2 separate regions of the Homo sapiens genome follow, and region 1 is linked to region 2. The links are contacts of gene promoters, found by promoter capture Hi-C in human tissues and cell types (Jung and others, 2019). All regions are on one chromosome and are shown on one strand. The core of a region is centred on a gene start or on the middle of the fragment in contact, and the rest is flanking DNA. Distances in the headings are between cores, read along the strand shown.

What was found. The method cuts DNA at HindIII sites, captures the fragments that hold promoters and counts their contacts. A contact is called where the count stands out against the background at its distance.
Region 1: a contact is called between a fragment that was not itself captured here and the fragment with the promoter of WDR89 in region 2, in 1 of the 25 tissues and cell types used here (dorsolateral prefrontal cortex).

Annotation. Positions count from the first base shown.
Region 1 is chr14:62,140,318-62,143,017 of GRCh38, forward strand. No RefSeq gene overlaps it. Among named protein-coding and RNA genes, the nearest start is that of LINC00644, 1.7 kb to the left of the region's middle. The HindIII fragment of the contact is 3,120 bases long and covers 1-2,700 here.
Region 2 is chr14:63,640,473-63,643,172 of GRCh38, forward strand. WDR89 (WD repeat domain 89) reads right to left here and starts at 1,399. Exons shown (of 3, transcript NM_080666.4): 1 at 1,332-1,399. LOC105370532 (a long non-coding RNA gene) reads left to right here and starts at 1,589. Exons shown (of 3, transcript XR_001750790.3): 1 at 1,589-1,725. RefSeq lists enhancers at 987-1,646, 1,201-1,300, 1,711-1,980. The HindIII fragment of the contact is 13,842 bases long and covers 1-2,700 here.

The DNA.
Region 1 (2,700 bases), core at 114-2,613, 1.5 Mb before region 2:
CGATGGGGGAACAATCTGTAGTCTGGATTAATTGAAGGAGACTAGTGTTAGAGAGGGGCAAAGAAAAGTGATGCCCTAAAATAATCAGGGCACTTTTTGTGGAAGGCTTTGAACACCAGTGTGAGGCATCTGAATCCTCTTTGGTAGGCGACTGGGAGCCATTGATGGTGTTTTTGATAGCACTTTGGAGAGGTTGGTCTTACATGTGTTGAATAGAAATGGCAAAATAGTTATGAGAGACATTACGGAGACACACTAAACGCTTGGAGATGGAGGGTGAGGGAACAAGAGTGAAGAGTCACTTTTCAGATGCAGACAGACCTGCATTTTCTATGTAACAAAGACCCAGTAATGTAGCAACTGGCCGCTTGAACTGTGGATGGTCTAAATTGAGATGTACTGTAATTGTAAAATATACTCTGGATTTCTAAGGTTTTTATATTGAAGAATGTAAATATCACATTGCTTACATGTTGAAATGCTAATATTTAGTTCATACAGCATTACATAAAATATATTTAAAATTAACTTAACCTGTTTCTTTAAAAATGTTTAGTGTGGACACTAGAAAATTTAAAATTATGTATGTGGCTCACATTGTATTTCTATTTGGATGGCGGTCGTTTAGATTTCGGACAAATGGAACAACGGTCGGCCACTTACAGACAAAGAAAAAGAAGAACATGAGGTAGGGAGAGGGATCATCAACTTAGTGTTTCATATTTTAGCTTGGAGTGAAACATTCAAGTGGAACGTCAATAAAGCAGCTGAAAATATAAGTCTGGGATTAGGAGGGAATTGAGTGGGAGAAGCAGTTAGAAAGCCAGTTGCTAAATCTTCTAGAACTACTGATAATTACTCAAAAATACTATATCATTATGATTCTCTGACAAATAATTTCTTTGGGCATGCTCCTTAAAATTCCATATGGTATATATGGACCTCCTTGACCTTCCATGTGGGCCTTCTCCTTACAAAATTCTCTCTAGTTTCCAGTGCCCATAGATATGGATGACTTACAAGGTGCCAAAGACTTGTAATGGAGTGAGAGATGATGGTGTGGGGTGCAGGCTGCTGCCACAATTGTGAACAAACTGGTCCCTAGGGGTTGGTGACGTGAGTGAATATTGACACTCAGAACAACCACAACTGTTTTGCAGTGCTCAGGAGGGAACAACAGAAGCAGTCTTTGCTCTTCACGATTTTATAATCTGATTTGTGGACATAAAACACCATCAGACAGTGGGATTTTTCTTTTTCGATCCCAGTGTCTAGAACTGTATGACCAGCAATTTAAACGCTCCATTCATTTTTGGTCCAATTCTAATGTCATTTTTTTTTCCATTAAATGTCTTGTACTCTTCCAACTGGATATACTCTTTTTTTCATTTGGGCCCTTATAGCATTTTGTATCTCTCTCTCTCTCTTTTTCATTGTCTGCCTTGTGTTGAATTATTTCATTACATACCTCTCCTCTCCCCTAGACTATATGGCCCTTGGATATGGAGGCCACATATTATCTTGATCTTTCCTGATAATTTGTCTTTAATTCATTCAGCCAGTGCTATGCTGAATGAACAAAAATTAAAATAGCTACCATTTGTTCAGCATTTACTATATGTGAGGTTTTGTAAGTGTTTAATTGACTTCTCACCAACCATAAAAGTTACATTTTATTATTTTCAAATTTATAGTGAAGAAAACTGAGGTACAAAGAATTTAAGAAACTAGTCCAGCGCTGTCCAGCTGGTCGGTGGTAGAGCCAAAATTAGAACTCCTGTAGCCTGACTGCTGAGCCTTCACTGTGAGACAGTGTATTGTTGTGCTTAGGAAAATGGTTTTTGAGTAAGATGGACCCAGCTTCAAGCCTTAATACCACTACCTATACCTGTAGGACTTTGGGAAAGTTCCTGTCTAAGCTTCTTTAACCCTTTTCCTGTTTTCCTTGAGACGACTTGCCGGTGGCTGCAGCGTTTACTCCAAGATAACTTTGCCACAAAATATCTCGCTTTTATTATTATTTTCACATCGCTCTACTATATCAACTTTGGAAACAAGAGACACCATTCTATTGATAGCATTCTGTTTTTAGTAGTGGTATTTTCGTTTACAAAAATGTAATAATTCTCCATCGCTGAAAATGTCAAATCCTAGAAAACGTAGCATTCCTACAACGAGCAGTTGTTGGCCAATGATTCATTTGATGAATTTGATTTTTCTGAAACGGATGATTCTGATGTTAGTTCTGTTTAGAAGTAACCCCAAGAACAGTTTTTATATTTTATTTTCACATTGAAAATCAGTCGGATTGGCTTTAGCCTCAAAGAATGTGTTTATGTAAAATTAAATGAGTGCTGGTAGCGAGCTGCATTTTTTTTTCTAAATGGAAAAAGCATTAAACTTTGGTTTTCTCGTCTCTAAAACAGGGGAAACAATTTCACCTAAGTCTTAGGTTTACTAAGAGAAGCACCAATTATCTCATGTACAGCATTTAATACTATGCCCAAGTTAAGGATCAAACTCAAAAAATTTTAGCTGAGTAAAATAAATAACAATGCAAGATTAAAATGTCAATCCATTAATCTGATTAAGAAAATTTCTGTTACTGACTTAGAAATAATGAGAAACCTTTAGTTTTCCAGTTATTCTAGGTTCCTCATTCATTCAAAAATAGCTTGGTATAAAATGGTTCCAGACAAG
Region 2 (2,700 bases), core at 149-2,648:
GTGTGTTTTATTGACTTTTTTTTTTCTCTTTTTTGAGACGTTGTCTCACTCTGTCGCCCAGGCTGGAGTACAGTAGCACGATCTTGGCTCACTGCAACCTCTGCCTCCCGGGTTCAAGCGATTCTCCTGCCTCAGCCTCCCGAGTAGCTGGGACTACAGGCGCCCGCCACATTTTTGCATTCGTAGTAGAGACGGGGGTTTCACCATGTTGACCAGGCTGGTCTCGAACTCCTGACCTCGTGATCCGCCCGCCTCGGCCTCCCAAAGTGCTGGGATTACTGGCGTGAGCCACCGCGCCCAGGCTTTTATTGACTTTAAATAATTTCAAATTAATAAAGAAAACGGCCGGGCACGGTGGCTCACGCCTGTAATCCCAGCACTTTGGGAGGCAGAGGCGAGTGGATCACCTGAAGTCAGGAGTTCGAGACCGGCCTGACCAGTATGGTGAAATCCCGTCTCTACTAAAAATACAAAAATTAGCCGGGCGTGGTGCCAGGCGCCTATAATCCCGGCTACTCGGGAGGCTGAGGCTGGAGAATCGCTTGAACCCGGGGGGCGGAGGTTGCAGTAAGCCGAGATCGCCCCACTGCACTCCAGCCTGCGCGACAGCCTGAGACTCCATCTCAAAAAAAAAAAAAAAAAAGAAAAAGAAAAAGAAAAACAAAAAAGAAAACAGGAGCAACATTTTACAAATTATACCATCTTTTAATTTTACATCCATGGAAGCTGAATGCCACAATTTGTCAGAGACAAGCTAAAGAAAACACAAGAATGAGTAATGTCTAACACTGCTTCGCGTGAAAATGAGAACACTCACAGTACCTACCTCTTTAGATAGCCATGTGGTTTAAATGATATAATAGACCAGTTGCTGGTATCATACCACATCCCATACTACGGGTCGTCTCTTCCCAAGTGAAAATCTGCTTTCTGGCCTACAAAAGGATTATACTAAACCCTTTTAGTGGTGGGGAGAGTATCCGTGGAGAGGAAAGAGCAGGAGGAAACAGGTCTTTCCCTGAAAATGAGCAAGGGCGTTTGGCTTTTATTGAAAAACGCCCCAGAGGAAGTACTGGGAACTGCACCGGCAACAGCAGCCTGACCCGCAGAAGTTTCTTTGGCCAGGGCCAGCACAGGTTTGACCTGGTGGCTCCGACGGCGGAGCGAGACTGCCAACACGTGCACACTCCGTCCAGACCTCCCACTTCCCTCCGCGCTCCCGCGATAGCTGTCCAGCAACTCTAGCTTTCTAGACTCAACCACGGCGTCGCCGCTCGTCGAGAGGGCTGCCCATCCCGGGGACCCGCCCAGCCTGGCCCAGCAAAATGTACCTTAGTAGCCTCAACCTGTACCGGAGAAAACGCAGGCTGCGCGGCGGCTTAGAGCGGTCAAGTGGAACCCCGCCTCGACCTCTCTGATTGGGTAATGCGCACAAGAAAATCAAGAGGATTGGTCGGCTGCAGAGAGGCGGCCCGTAACGCGACGCGAAAGAAGTGGGGCATAGCGGCCCGGGGAATTCTTGCTAGCTTCCGATTGGACGAAAGCAGAACGCCTGCCCCTTCGTAGACCCAGCGTACGTACAACGCTCACACCACCACGCCGTACGCTGCGTTAGCGGAAGTTTAATGGCCCCATTGGTGGGATGCGTGGCCAATAAAGGGCAAGAATAAGGCGGATTCCGCCTTCCTCGTGGCTGACTGGATGCATCCGCTGGTACTGATTTACGTGAGTTTCAGCATTTAGACGTTCCGAGTTTCCACCGAGCCAGAGTTGGGTAGAGAGTTATTAAGATGACTAGGAGACTAATGCGGGGAGAAATAATTTAGTAGTTAGACTCAGGCCCTGAAACTACCACTCGTGTTCAGAAAGTCTACGTAATACCTTATTGTTTTCACGCGAAGAAACCAGCCCTTCAGGCCGGGCTGAATGTGGTTTAGGGATTCTCTGGCTGTCATTGGGTGAAAAAGCGATCAGTTTGAAGGTAGCTCCGCCTGGGCTCTAGGGAACTCTGGGATTTGTAGTCCGGAACTTTCGAGTCCTGTAGCTTTAAATGTGGTTGTTGCTACTGAGTTCTTTCATGTTGTTAATAACACCCATTGACATTTATTGTGGTTTGTTGGACTTTTTATCCTTTCGTTTATCAGCAGCATTAAAGACAACATTTAAGAAATGTGTAAACACTGCATGTATGTTCGTAAACAATAAATGTTAGTGTTTCCAACAATTTACTGCTGTGCCTAGCTGTATACTATATGTTCATGCTTACTGTACTAAGTAGATACTAAAATTATTTGTTTCTAAAACTTTTGCTGTTACAACAAAACAGTCTGATTTTCATATTAGTGTCCATTTACGATTATTTGAACCCTACATTTAGCAATTATGTGTACTGTGATGGCATAGGTAGCAGCTGCTTACATGAATCAAGTGTTGTTATGACATGAAGCAGAACTGGCTGCTATCTTCACAGGAAAATAGGGCTATGCTTAAAATGTCAAGCAAGACCACCATCAGGAGGAATACACATTGTATATTATTAAAGACTGTATTATAGTGTCTATTTTCAGCCTTTATTAAAACAGTTTTAGGACAGGCTTTTCCTGAGTCTATAGAATCCTGAACTCTTCTGTGAGCTAATTTAGCGGTATTTCATTTTTGTGTCTAGCAAAAGTAAAACCATTAATAAATACCAAAAACTTG